5 separate regions of the Homo sapiens genome follow, and regions 1, 2, 4 and 5 are each linked to region 3. Evidence: promoter capture Hi-C in 16 types of primary human blood cells and fetal thymus (Javierre and others, 2016). All regions are on one chromosome and are shown on one strand. Each heading gives the region's core, a stretch centred on a gene start or on the middle of the fragment in contact. The rest is flanking DNA. Distances are from core to core; before and after follow the strand shown. Region 1 overlaps IKZF3 (IKAROS family zinc finger 3). Region 2 overlaps ERBB2 (erb-b2 receptor tyrosine kinase 2). Region 3 holds the start of GSDMA (gasdermin A). Region 4 overlaps IKZF3 (IKAROS family zinc finger 3). Region 5 overlaps RAPGEFL1 (Rap guanine nucleotide exchange factor like 1).

The links. Contacts are between HindIII fragments. The CHiCAGO score rates a contact against its expected background, and 5 or more counts as called.
Region 1: a fragment that was not itself captured here is called in contact with the fragment with the promoter of GSDMA in region 3 in 1 of 17 cell types (activated CD4 T cells); the score reaches 6.8 in activated CD4 T cells.
Region 2: a fragment that was not itself captured here is called in contact with the fragment with the promoter of GSDMA in region 3 in 1 of 17 cell types (activated CD4 T cells); the score reaches 5.8 in activated CD4 T cells.
Region 4: a contact is called between a fragment that was not itself captured here and the fragment with the promoter of GSDMA in region 3, in 7 of 17 cell types (activated CD4 T cells, naive CD4 T cells, total CD4 T cells and 4 more). The highest score is 7.5, in activated CD4 T cells.
Region 5: a contact is called between a fragment that was not itself captured here and the fragment with the promoter of GSDMA in region 3, in 1 of 17 cell types (endothelial precursors). The highest score is 5.4, in endothelial precursors.

The regions. Positions count from the first base shown.
Region 1 is chr17:39,796,739-39,799,438 of GRCh38, forward strand. All of the region lies in intron 3 of IKZF3 (IKAROS family zinc finger 3), which reads right to left. Among named protein-coding and RNA genes, the nearest start is that of GRB7, 60 kb to the left of the region's middle. The HindIII fragment of the contact is 6,358 bases long and covers 1-2,700 here.
Region 2 is chr17:39,714,954-39,717,653 of GRCh38, forward strand. ERBB2 (erb-b2 receptor tyrosine kinase 2) reads left to right here. Exons shown (of 27, transcript NM_004448.4): 10 at 333-406; 11 at 493-583; 12 at 787-986; 13 at 1,348-1,480; 14 at 1,562-1,652; 15 at 2,367-2,527. Among named protein-coding and RNA genes, the nearest start is that of MIR4728, 10 kb to the right of the region's middle. The HindIII fragment of the contact is 1,530 bases long and covers 645-2,174 here.
Region 3 is chr17:39,961,736-39,964,487 of GRCh38, forward strand. GSDMA (gasdermin A) reads left to right here and starts at 1,269. Exons shown (of 12, transcript NM_178171.5): 1 at 1,269-1,350. The HindIII fragment of the contact is 5,749 bases long and covers 1-2,752 here.
Region 4 is chr17:39,777,342-39,780,083 of GRCh38, forward strand. It overlaps IKZF3 (IKAROS family zinc finger 3), which reads right to left. Exons shown (of 8, transcript NM_012481.5): 7 at 310-426. Among named protein-coding and RNA genes, the nearest start is that of GRB7, 41 kb to the left of the region's middle. RefSeq lists a silencer at 1,040-1,273. The HindIII fragment of the contact is 4,957 bases long and covers 1-2,742 here.
Region 5 is chr17:40,189,938-40,192,637 of GRCh38, forward strand. RAPGEFL1 (Rap guanine nucleotide exchange factor like 1) reads left to right here. Exons shown (of 15, transcript NM_016339.6): 7 at 497-594; 8 at 703-825; 9 at 1,379-1,557; 10 at 1,645-1,735; 11 at 2,276-2,326; 12 at 2,669-2,700. Among named protein-coding and RNA genes, the nearest start is that of MIR6867, 2.3 kb to the right of the region's middle. RefSeq lists a silencer at 1,545-1,604 and an enhancer at 1,725-1,804. The HindIII fragment of the contact is 2,203 bases long and covers 202-2,404 here.

The DNA of each region.
Region 1 (2,700 bases), core at 79-2,578, 160 kb before region 3:
GGTTTCACCATCTTGGCCAGGCTGGTCTTGAACTCCTGACCTCGTGATCCACCCACCTCGGCCTCCCAAACTGCTGGGATTACAGGAGTGAGCCACTGCGCTCGGCCTCAACATTCCTTTCTAGACAGATTTAAGACACAGGTGGTCCAGGAGCGGTGGCTCACACCTGTAATTCCAGCACTTTGGGAGGCCGAGGCGGGTGGATCATGAGGTCAGGAGATCGAGACCATCCTGACTAACATGGTGAAACCCCATCTCTACTAAAAATACAAAAAAATTAGCCAGGCGTGGTGGTGTGCGCCTATAGTCCCAGCTACTCAAGAGGCTGAGGCAGGAGAATCGCTTGAACCTGGGAAGTGGAGGTTGCAGTGAGCTGAGATCCCACCACTGCACTCCAGCTTGGGTGACAAAGTGAGACTCCGTCTCAAGAAAAAAAAAAAAAGACATAGGTAAGCTATGCTTACTGCCTCTACAGCCTCAAAAAGGACTCAGAATTCTCTGTAATATGGCTTCCGCCTCCACAATTCACTTAATCTGCTCCCTTGAATATCACCAACCATAATCTCCTGATTCCTAGATTCAGAGCCTTTTTGTATGCCACTCTCTCCAACTTCTTTGTAATCCTCAACACTACTGACCACTCACCATTCCTTGTTCTTCTGCACTCCTATGTCTTTTCTTTCTTTCTTTTTTTTTTTTTTTGAGACAGAGTCTCACTCTGTTGCCCAGGCTAGAGTACAGTGGTGCGATCTCGGCTCACTGCAACCTCTGCTTCCCAGGTCCAAGCGATTCTCCTGCCTCAGCCTCCCGAGTAGCTGGGACTATAGGCACGTGCCACCACACCTGGCTAATTTCTGTATTTTTAGTAGAGACAGGGTTTTACCATGTTGGCCAGGCTGGTCTCGAACTCCTGACTTCAGGTGATCCACCTGTCTTGGCCTCCCAAAGTGTTGGGATTACAGGCATGAGCCACCGTGCCCGGCCCCTGCACTCCTATTTCTTCAATGAAAATGTACCTTCTTTCCTTGCCTTTCTGATTGCTTCCTTCTTGCCCCTTTTCTTCCCTCTGCATCCTAAATACTGTCCTTAACCTTCTTTTTTCTTCCCTCTACACCCCTCTTGTATGGCAATTTCATTCATTCTTAAGGCTTCGACTAACATCTTATATGATTAATTTCCATATATATAACTCCAGGTGTAACCTCTCTCCCTTTCTTTAGTCCTCTATTTCTGAAGGCTTCCTAGGTATCTTCCCAGTTACTCAGGCTAGAATCCTTAGAGTCATCTTTCCTTTCTCCTGATTGGGCCCCACATTCAATCATTCAGTGGTTCTATCTGTGTATCCAATCTCTAATCTGTTTCTCCACTCCTGTATTTTGCATGCCCATTACCTAATTCTCAGACCCTATGACTTTCCCACGATCTACTTATTGCTGTAGCCCCCGCACTGTTCTCTTTGGCTCCCTTCTTTCTCCTTTCCAGCCCGTCTTGTTTGTTGCTACAAGATTGCTCTTCCTAAATTCTACCTCTGGTCATGTCATAGCCCTGTCAAAATTCTTCAATATTTTCCACTGCCAACAAAATAAAGTCCAAACTCAGAAACAAATAATTTAAAAGGCCTTTCGGGATCTGGCCCCAACCTATCTTTGGCATATTAATTTTGACTAGTTAGATCTTTAACTAAAGAGCTTCTAAGTAGTCTTATTTCTACTGCCTAAAAGATCTTTCCCCAATATGGCCACAGGTCCAAGTCCTACACATCCTACGTATTTTTTTTTTTTTTTTGAGACGGAGTCTTTCTCTGTCTCTCAGGCTGGAGTGCAGTGGTGCGATCTCTGCTCACTGCAACTTCTGCCTCCCGGGTTCATGCCATTCTCTTGGCTCAGCCTCCTGAGTAGCTGGGACTACAGGCGCCCACCACCATACCCAGCTAATTTTTTGTATTTTTAGTAGAGACAGGGTTTCACTGTGTTAGCCAGGATGGTCTCAATCTCCTGACCTCGTGATCCGCCGGCCTCGGCCTCCCAAAGTGCTGGGATTACAGGCATGAGCCACTGCGCCTGGCCACTGTCCTACACATTTTTAAAGGTCAAACTAATATGCTGTCTCCTGGCTACTATGCCTTCTCTGATCAACCCAGCTGGAAAATAGCCTGCTCCTTCTTCCTGGGTTACTTATGAACTCACCTCCCCTAGTCTCCCCAATAAATATGTAAACTAGCTGAGGGCAGAAGCTATACAGATTGTGTGTGTGTGTGCGTGTGTGTGTGTGTGTGTGTGTGTTTAACTCAGTATTCCCTATGACACTGCTTAACCTGTATCTGTAAGACCAGAGGTTATGTGGTTTTAAAATAGAAAATTTGGGGCTCCTACCATAGATCTACTAATCTGGGGGTGGAGACTGGAAATGTTCATTTAAAACCATGCTCTCCAGATAAACCTTATGCACAATGGAGTTTGAGAGCCACTGCCTCGAGTTAGATGCAGTGCCCTACATAAAGTAGACATCCCATAAATTCCTGGTGTATGAATATATCATTGCATTAGCCTCCTAACTGGCCCACGGTACATGTGACCTCTGTTATACTGCATCCTATTGCCAGAATAATCATGCTGTAGCAAAGAAACTCTTATTTAAAACTTTCAATGATTTCATTTGCTTATAGAATAAAGTCCAAACTCCTTAATGAGGTATTCAAGC
Region 2 (2,700 bases), core at 160-2,659, 250 kb before region 3:
GAGATGGGGTTTCACCATGTTGGCCAGGATGGTCTCCATCTCTTGACTTCGTGATCCGCCCGCCTCGGCCTCCCAAAGTGCTGGGATTACAGGCGTGAGCCACTGAGCCCAGGCAGAAATAAGATTTCTAGATCAAAGGATATAAATACTGTTTTGATAGATGTTGCCGAACTAAGGCCTGGGCTTTGAAGCCCAGGATGGGAACAGCTGGGCTCGATGGGCAAAGGGTTTGAGTGAAGGCATTCATGGTGGGGAGTGGCTGGCATGGCCAGTGCTGGGAGTGATGTCCACCCTGTTCCTGGCCCTGCTGACTCCTCTCCTGACCCCTCCAGGGACCCAGCCTCCAACACTGCCCCGCTCCAGCCAGAGCAGCTCCAAGTGTTTGAGACTCTGGAAGAGATCACAGGTGGGCTCTGTCTCTGCATCCTGTTCTGCAGGGGCTGGGAGTCCTTGTCCTGTCCCCACTCCTTTAATCTCACCCTCTGCCTGCAGGTTACCTATACATCTCAGCATGGCCGGACAGCCTGCCTGACCTCAGCGTCTTCCAGAACCTGCAAGTAATCCGGGGACGAATTCTGCACAAGTGAGCACTGAGAAAGAGGGGGCCTGATGGGGAGGAGTCCCAGGGAGGAGTCCCTGTGGGAAGCTTTGGGCCTGAGGGAGTACTCCTGTAGCAGTAACCTTTCCATGAAAGTCTGCAGAGTGTGCTGGGGATGGAGGAAGATGAGAATAGCCTTTGCTGACCGGGAAGGGGTCCGTGGTAAGGTGCCCACCTTTCTCCCATAGTGGCGCCTACTCGCTGACCCTGCAAGGGCTGGGCATCAGCTGGCTGGGGCTGCGCTCACTGAGGGAACTGGGCAGTGGACTGGCCCTCATCCACCATAACACCCACCTCTGCTTCGTGCACACGGTGCCCTGGGACCAGCTCTTTCGGAACCCGCACCAAGCTCTGCTCCACACTGCCAACCGGCCAGAGGACGAGTGTGGTAAGACAGGGAGCCCAGTGTGCGCACTCCCCATCTGCCAGCACACAGCAGTGCCCAGGGGGCCCTGGCAGCAGCGTTCTTGGACTTGTGCAGACTGCCCGTCTCTGTGCACCCTTCTTGACTCAGCACAGCTCTGGCTGGCTTGGCCTCTTGGCATGGCTTCTCTAGCTGGGTCCTACCTGCCTTGGCATCCTTCCCTCCCCCTCTGTTTCTGAAATCTCAGAACTCTTCCTCTCCCTACATCGGCCCCACCTGTCCCCACCCCTCCAGCCCACAGCCATGCCCACAGCCAGTTCCCTGGTTCACTTGGACCTGGGGCCTCCCCTAAAAGTCCCCTGCGGTCCCTTCCTCCTCACTGCAGTGGGCGAGGGCCTGGCCTGCCACCAGCTGTGCGCCCGAGGGCACTGCTGGGGTCCAGGGCCCACCCAGTGTGTCAACTGCAGCCAGTTCCTTCGGGGCCAGGAGTGCGTGGAGGAATGCCGAGTACTGCAGGGGTATGAGGGGCGGAGGAGAGGGTGGCTGGAGGGGTGCATGGGGCTCCTCTCAGACCCCCTCACCACTGTCCCTTCTCTCAGGCTCCCCAGGGAGTATGTGAATGCCAGGCACTGTTTGCCGTGCCACCCTGAGTGTCAGCCCCAGAATGGCTCAGTGACCTGTTTTGGACCGGTGAGCTGCTGGCGGGCTCAGAGCTGGGTGGAGGGGGGCAGCGAGGGGGATTGCCAGGGACTTGGCAGGATGGCGAGATGCAGTAGGGTGTGCTATCTGGTAAAATATCCCTGGAGAGGGCTCAGCGCTCAGACCTGAACAGCAACAGAGTGGCAGAAAAGGGGCCTGGGGGACACTGGGGCCCTTCAGACTATGAAAAGGTTCTAAGGAGGTCTGTGTTGGTGGCTGTGACTGTGGCTGTGCTAGGGTGGTGAGCCCTGTGGGCTCAGGCGTCAGACTACCTGGATTCAGACCCAGCTCCTGCTTCCAACCTTGGTTTTTTATTCCTAAAATGGGTATTGTAATAATACCTACCTTGCTGGGGTGTGGCAAGAATGAAATTAAACAGGGCTTGGCACAGTGAAGCACGGGAAAGGCTTTCTACAGAGCAGTGACTGTTGTTACTCGCTGTTACACCTTAGGTAATGCGTTTTCCTCTCTGGGTGCCTCCCATTTTCTGGCTCAAGTCCCTGCCCAGGATCAAGCTTGGAGGAGGGCCCCGAGGGAGGGGCCACAGAGACTGGGTGAAGAGCAAGGGTGTTTGTCCCAGGAGCATGGCGAAAATTGCTGCTGGGTGGCCTTGGGAAGCACAAAGGGGACCCAACTAAGGGCCTGATCCTACTGCCCTGGGGGTGTCAGTGCCAGCCCCCCACAAATCTTTTCTGCCCCCCCCAGGAGGCTGACCAGTGTGTGGCCTGTGCCCACTATAAGGACCCTCCCTTCTGCGTGGCCCGCTGCCCCAGCGGTGTGAAACCTGACCTCTCCTACATGCCCATCTGGAAGTTTCCAGATGAGGAGGGCGCATGCCAGCCTTGCCCCATCAACTGCACCCACTCGTGAGTCCAACGGTCTTTTCTGCAGAAAGGAGGACTTTCCTTTCAGGGGTCTTTCTGGGGCTCTTACTATAAAAGGGGACCAACTCTCCCTTTGTCATATCTTGTTTCTGATGACAAAAATAACACATTGTTAAAATTGTAAAATTAAAACATGAAATATAAATTAATGCCCT
Region 3 (2,752 bases), core at 19-2,518:
CAGCACTTTGGGAGGCCGAGGCGGGCGGATCATGAGGTCAGGAGATCAAGACCCTCCTGGCCAACATGGCGAAACCCCGTCTCTAATAAAAATACAAAACTAGCCAGGCATGGTGGTGCATGCCTGTAATCCCAGCTACTCGGGAGGCTGAGGCAGAGAACTGTTTGAACCCGGGAGGTGGAAGTTGCAGTGAGCTGAGATTGCACCGCTGCACTCCAGCCTGGAGGACAGAGCGAGACTCCTTCTCAAAAAAAAAAAAGATGGAATTTACTCTTCACAGCATTCAGGGTTGCGTTTCTTTTTCCATGAGTGGTACTAAGAAGAGCCTCAAGGTGGGAGCAGGAAGGCTCTGCTGTGTCAGGTTATACCTGCACATATGCATGGCCACATGGCCCAACACTGTAAGGGCCTTGCTTGTAAGTCCCTTATTCTGTCCTCTAGCAATGTGACCATGTAGGCAACATTTGAAATTCCTTTAAAATTCCTTCTAGGCAGAGATTTAAGCTAAGAGGAGGACCTGAGTGACCTCTGGTGCAACATCTGAAAGCCCACGACAAGCCTCCTGGGCTTTTCCATGAATATCGCCGTGCCCCTGCCTACGGATATGCTGATGTGTGTATACAATATTCTGTGAGAAGCAGAGACGCTGAACACTAAACAACACAAACCCATTTGGTCTAACTCCATCTCTGCCTACTCAGACATCTGCTTCTAGCGGTATCAGAGTTATGTCTATGTAGCTAAAACAAATGGAGTAAGGCAGCAATACACACAGGCTGACAAGCCCAGGATGGAGGGCGGCACTGCAGATGCTCTGCTCTCTACTGGAATGTGTGGACATACAGGAATCCCTATCCCAGGACACCCGCAGACCCCCACCATGAATCCGAGATGCTCCCCAATGACGGTGATGATGACAGAACAGAGATGCCATCCCTGGTCACACACACACACACACACACACACACACTCCCACTGCCTCCCTCTGCACCCCTCCCAAAGGCACCTGCCTTCCTCTCCTCTCAATCCACAAGCCAACCTCCAGCTGCCACCTCTCTATCAGCCTTGGCTACCCCCACCCACGCTGGCACCTGCCTGGCAGCTCCCTATCCACCCCCTCAGCCCTCAGGAGGCCAGGGCACACGTGGAACAGGTTGATGTTGTTCTCCAGGAAGTGGAGTGGGAGGGGGGTGGGGTCACTAGGGCAGGCGGGGTCCCCGGAAGCCTCTGTCCCTGCATAAAGCAGCCTGTCCTGGCAAGGGATGGTCATCCTCTCAACCTACAGACCCAGTGAGCCCTAGGCCCTCACCCCAGACCCAGCTGCTGGATAGGACCCAGCCCCGCTCCCAGGTAAGAACTTGATGACAGCAGGGAAGGCAGGGGTGCTCTGAGGACACAGGAAGATGGGTGGACCAAGAAGGGAATGGAACTCCCCTAGAGTCCAGTGGGATAAGTATCCCGATAGGCCTTGGGGAGGGAAGGGAGAGGCAGGCCTGTGGACATCTCTCTGGTGAAGAGGAGGCTGCTGTTGCCCAAGCCCTTCCCAGGTGCACCCAGGTAGCACCAGGAGGTTGTCCTGCCCCATCCTGGCCCTCCCAGGAATGAGGGTGAAAAAAAAAAAGCACCTTGAAGCTGGCAGAACAGCCCCACGCATCTGTGCCGTGCTTCCTGCCCCCCCTGCTGCTGTGAAGTGCCTGTGGTGGATGTGGGATGCTTCCAAGCCAGCTGGTGTGGCCTCTTCCACCCACGGGGATAACTGGGGTGTGCCGATCGGCCACCCAGCCAGAGCACCTGGACTCAAACTTCAAAGACAGAGACTTAAGATGTTGACCCTCAGGTCAGGTGCGGTGGCTCACACCTGTAATCCCAGCACTTTGGGAGGGTGAGATGGGCGGATCACCTGAGGTCAGGAGTTCAAGACCAGCCTGGCCAACATGGTGAAACACCGTCTCTACTAAAAACACAAAAATTAGCTGGGCATGGTGGCAGGCGCCTGTAATCCCAGCTACCTGGGAGACTGAGGCAGGAGAATCACTTGAACCCAGGAGATGGAGGTTGCAGTGAGCCGAGATCATGCCATTGCACTCCAGCCTGGGCAACAAGAATGAAACTCCATCTCAAAAAGAAAAAAAAAATGTTGCCTCTCAGGTTCCCATGGGCCCCACATTCTCCAGGGCCCTCTCATCCTAGCGCACATCTCTCAGGGCCACATTCATTGGTTCTTTCCACACACATTTGCCAAGCTCGAACTCTGTGCCAGGTGTGGTACTTGCTGCTGCAGAGGTGACTAAGACCCATTTCCTGCCCTCTGGGAAGTCACAGACGAGTTGCTGATAGGGTCAGGTGAACAGATCATAACAAAGGAAGGTGCATCAGAAGAGCGCTTTGGAAACACAGATACAGTCACCAGCTGCCTGGAGGACTGAGGGAAGAGGTTCCAGGAGGTGACCTGAATTGAGCATTAGCGGAGGACTAGGGAGTCTTCAGATCCGGAAGCGGGTATTGTAAGCAGAGGGGGCAAAGGTGAAGAGCATCAAAATGCCTGGATCCTGGCTGGGCACAGAGGCTCACACCTGTAATCACAGTACTTTGGGAGGTCAAGGAGGGCGGATCATTTGAGGTCAGGAGTTCGAGACCAGCCTGACCAACATGGTGAAACCCTGTCTCCATTAAAAATACAAAAATTAGCCAGGCGTGGTGGCACACACCTGCAGTCCCAGCTACTCGGGAGGCTGAGGCAGGAGAATCGCTT
Region 4 (2,742 bases), core at 194-2,693, 180 kb before region 3:
GCATAAACTCTCTCATGCAACATATGTCATTCAGAGTAAAGAGGAAGGAACAGGATTTTAAACATCACATCCATTTAGGAAATTGGATATCAACTACTCCCATCTCCTGTCATGATGATGCTTTAGTTAATATCTTTTATTCTATTTTCCAGAGCTATCAGAATGAACCATGAAGAATAAAAGTACACAATGAAAAACTAATTATTTTAACAGAGGTTAAGCTAGGAAAGGCCTTGTGTAGCAAGCATCCTATGTTATTTCATTCAAACTATCTGCTAACAACAGCAGGAAAAAGGTTTGTATTCTTACCAATGAATTTCTGAGGCATTGAGCTTTTTCGTTTTGCCACATTGCTTGCTAATCTGTCCAGTACGAGAGCTCTTTCACTTCCCATCTCTGCTTTGATGTGTCTTGCCTCCGCACTTGCTAGTTTGGAAAAATGTAAAAAGAAGAGAGAAAAGAACACATTGGTACATGGGGAGAAAAGGAAATAAACTGGAAGGAGAAGTGTCCGAAGTTGGATGCACACTCTATTGTTGTTACCTGTTATAACTGCTCAGATTCTTGCCTGGGGTACCTGCTGTGGTCAGTGAAGCCGACACCAGGGCACATTCAAATCTTGCAGTCTTATGCCGAGATGGGAAAGCTCGACCCATCCCCAACCAGTACCTTCATTAGCAAGAGGAAGTATTAAATAAACAGCCTGGACGTGGTTGGTTGCAAAAAGATAGATAGATGGAGATCTAACCCCCGATCAGCCTTCTTTCTGATTCTGAGTAACTGCGTGTGACACCTGCAGACTGATATAATTCTTAACAACTTTGAAAAAAAAGCATGGTGCCCCAGATTTACTGCTCTGTTTATGTTAACAGCACTTTTGAAAATAGGTACACTCACACAGATAGCAAGACATCTACTCAGTGATTTGTGTATTGAAATTCTGAGTGGTTTCTTTCTTTTTCTTTTTCTTTTTTTTTTTCAGCACGCTCCTCTCAGTTCCTATCTTTCATATTCTGTTTCTCTGTGCTCTGTATTATCTGTTTCATATGCTCTTCACATTTCAAAATAGTCTCAATTAAAATTTCCCTAAGCAACACTTCTGCCTTGAAATTAAAGAACAATTTGTATAATGCATCTGTATTGAATTTCTAATAAAAATGTGAATAAAAACTGCCTATGGGCTGGGTGCGGTGGCTCATGCCTGTAATCCCAGCACTTTGGGAGGTGGAGGTGGGCAGATCACCTGAGGTCGGAGTTCGAGACCAGCCTGACCAACTTGGAGAAACCCTGTCTCTACTAAAAATACAAAATTAGCCTGGTGTGATGGTGCATGCCTGTAATCCCAGCTACTCGGGAGGCTGAGGCAGGAGAATCACTTGAACCTGGGAGGCAGAGGTTGCAGTGAGCCGAGATGGCGCCATTGCACTCCTGCCTGGGCAACAAGGGCAAAATTCCGTCTCAAAAAACAAAGAAACAAACAAAACACAAAAAAACCTGCCTATGAATGTGGGCCCATCCACAAATAGACCTGTGAGTGGTGTAGGCCTGTGGTTCTCAGACCTGGCTGCACATTAGACTCACCTGAATAGCAGGTAAGAAATACCTATGCCCAGGCCCCCCTTCAGATCAATTAAATCAGGATTTCTGGTATAGGGGCCTAGGCAAGAATATTTTCAAAGCTCCCCAGATGATTTTAAAATGCAGCCAGAATTGAGAACTACTAGAAGAGTATATAAATAGTGGCAATATCTAATCAACTAAAATAGTAAACTGTAATGAATATAATTTACCTCAATTCAGCAGGCAGTGCCCAAATTTATGTCTAAAGTTCAAAGAAGGCCAGGCACGGTGGCTCACGTCTATAATCCCAGCACTTTGCAAGGCCGAGGCGGGCAGATCACCTGAGGTCGGGAGTTCAAGACCAGCCTGACCAACATGGAGAAACCCCATCTCTACTAAAAATATAAATAATTAGCTGGGTGTGGTGGCGAATGCCTGTAATCTTAGCTCTCGGGAGGCTGAGGCCGGAGAATCGCTTGAACCCAGGAGGCAGAGGTTGTGGTGAGCCGAGATTGAGCCATTGCACTCCAGCCTGGGCAATAAGAGCAAAACTCCATCTCCAAAAAATAAATAAATTAATTAAATAAATTTCAAAGAGATACCAGCTTCTCTAAATACAAGGCTTGACATTTTAACACATGATGCTAGCCTGAACCAGGGATCAGCAAACTTTTGTCTGTAAAGGGCCAGACAGTAAATTTTAAAAATTTGCCAGACACATATAGTCTCTATGTTATATTCTTTGTTTTTTGTTTTTTTTTTTTCTGTTCCACGGCCTTTTAAAAACGTAAAAATCCCTGTACACAAACAGGCCACTGGCTGCACTTGCCTAGAGCGCCACAGTTTGCCCTCACCTGCCCTGGGCAAACATATTGTGATGCTGTAAACATTTTTCTCTGTTTTCTCATAAACACTTCGGGAGATCCAAACTAAAATGAACTATCCATACATTTCTATTATGTCTAAGGAAGAATAAATTGAAATTAGTTTAAGGGATTAGAGTAAAAAGCAAGTAGTGGCTGGCACAGTGGCTCACCCCTGTAATCCCAGTGCTTTGGGAGACTGAGGCAGGAAGATTGCTTGAGGCCAGGAGTTGAGACCAACCTGGGCAATATAGCAAGATCCTGTTCCTACAAAAAGTAATTTTAAAAAATTAGCTGGGCATGTTGGCATGCGCCTGTA
Region 5 (2,700 bases), core at 53-2,552, 230 kb after region 3:
GAGCGAAACTCCGTCTCAAAAAAAAAAAAAAAGTTTGGGAGGCACTGGTCTAGGACTCAGGTTCTGATCTGAGTGCTGCCCCTCACTCACCTATGGATTGTATTCTGATCCTTTAACCTCCCTGTGTATGTAAGGATGCCACATTTCACAGGCTAAAGACACAGGATGAGTGGGAAGGCAGAAAGCCAGCAATGTCACTGAAGCTTTGTTTTCCTCTACAGTAGGAAAAAATTTCAGCCTTCCCAGTGTCACAAGGACAACAGAGTAAGAGAAAAGCTGTGAAAGAAAGGGAGTAGAAAAAAAGTTATAAATGCAAAAGAAATAATCATTTGACAAATTCCAGATAAATATGGCATAAACTAGTGATAAGATGAGTTCCATTAGTCTAGAATGTGTCAGTGTGGGGTGAGGAGTTTTTGGATAGGACAGTGTCAGTGTGGGATGTGTGAGGGTGCAGGCGGCAGGGGCCGAGGATGAGCAGCTCTTTCTCCTGCAGAGAAGGTCCTTCTCCAGCCCACTGAGGACTGTGTTTTCACCGCACTGGGCATCAACAGCCACCTGTTTGCCTGTACTCGGGACAGCTATGAGGCTCTGGTAAGAACTTCCCAAGGCCTTGACTGGAATGGAGGGCTGAGGAGGGCTGTGAGCAATCCCTCACCCTGCCACCAGGAGCCCAGCCCCTATGCCCCTGCCTGCCACCAGGTGCCCCTCCCCGAGGAGATCCAGGTCTCCCCTGGAGACACAGAGATCCACCGAGTGGAGCCTGAGGACGTTGCCAACCACCTAACTGCCTTCCACTGGGAGCTGTTCCGATGTGTGCATGAGGTGGGGACCGAGGCTGGTGCTATGCTGGGGGGCTGGAGGGAGAAATGTGCCATTGGGAGACGGTGTTCGCAGCACAACGTCCTGGTTCCAAGGCTCACTTGCAGCAAGCCCTTGGGCAACGCATGGCCGTAACCTTTGTTCCCCCATCTGAAAAAAATCGCAAAGAGAGAGACCCCAGAGCACAGTGGCTCAGGGCCCAAGTGCTGTTTACACAGAACCTGACCCAGGATTTCTATTTTTAAAATATTCACTATTAAAGAAATAAAATAAGGCAGAGACAATAATGCCTAGCAGATGGTTGTCTTGAGGATGTCAGCCGTGAGCGAATGCCTGGCACCTAGTAAGTGCTCAGTAGCTGGTGAAATATTATTAATGCTGGTTGTTTTCTTTTTCCGCATCTTTGCCGCCTCCTGTCCTTTCTATTTTTCTATTTTCCACCCCTTCCGCCCCCGCCCTCCTGCCTTTCGCTCCTCATCGCCTTGCACTGCCATCTTCCCACCCACTCCCCTCACCCCCTGGCGCCCTGGCCGCCCCTCCGCTGCCGTGGGTGCAGCTGGAGTTCGTGGACTACGTGTTCCACGGGGAGCGCGGCCGCCGGGAGACGGCCAACTTGGAGCTGCTGCTGCAGCGCTGCAGCGAGGTCACGCACTGGGTGGCCACCGAAGTGCTGCTCTGCGAGGCCCCGGGCAAGCGCGCGCAGCTGCTCAAGAAGTTCATCAAGATCGCGGCCCTGTGAGTGCGGCCGTCGGCGGGATGGGGGGCCGGAGGCCGGAGGCCCGCGCCGCCGCCCGCCCCTGACCCCGCCTCCCACCCCCGCAGCTGCAAGCAGAACCAGGACCTGCTGTCTTTCTACGCCGTGGTCATGGGGCTGGACAACGCCGCTGTCAGCCGCCTTCGACTCACCTGGGAGGTGATGAGACCCCTCCCGTTCCTACCTGGGAATCTGGGCATCCCGGGCTCCCCGAAGTGCGTCCTCCCGGGACGGCCGCCGGCCTGGAGGGAGTCTTTGCGCCAGTTGGAGGGAGGCGCCCTCTTCTGGCATACGCAACCCCAGGGCGCACAGCTTGGCTAATGGACCCTGTCTTTGTGCAAATTAGTGAAAAGCCCGGATCCCGCCTGAGTCACGGCAGGCAGCCCTTGGCCAGGTCAGGTCGCAGACTTGGCTGTGGGAGTTGGGCTGATTTTCATCCACACTCAGTGGGGGCATCTTTATACAAAGCACCTGCATAAGACAGACCTGGCCTTCCCCAGAATAATGAATTCCTCTGGGCTGTTTCAAGCCTCTAGACTTAGCCAAGGCCTGACTTCATTTCCCCACCCACCAGCTTCCCAGCCCCCTACAAGCCATGCAGGCCCTTTTGCCCTCCAACAGGGAGAATTAATCCGAGGCTCCCATGTAACCCAAGGAGCTCCACTCTGATATCCCTTCTCCTTCCTTCAAACTCTGCAGAAGCTGCCAGGGAAATTCAAGAACTTGTTTCGCAAATTTGAGAACCTGACGGTGAGTGGGTTTGGCTCTTTCTTCTGCTCTTGGACTGAGAGCCCAGAAACCCTCTGTTCCCATAAACCCCCTTCCTCAAGCTTTCCTTTCAAGGTGTTTAGTGTATGGGACCCCCCACCCTCCTTACCATGCTGGAGGGTGAGGTTGGAAGGATTGCGCCCCTGTTTTTCTTGAAGGAAAGGGGGAGTAGTCAGGTCCCTCCCCACCACACCATTAGAAAGCCCCCAGCACCCCTATCTGATCAGGAATGTATACAAGGCAGGGGGTGAGGGAGGAAGCTGAGGACATCTTTGGGATGCATTGGCCAGTCTGTCCCTTGATCTCTCTCCTGTGGAATACTAGGACCCCTGCAGGAACCACAAAAGCTACCGAGA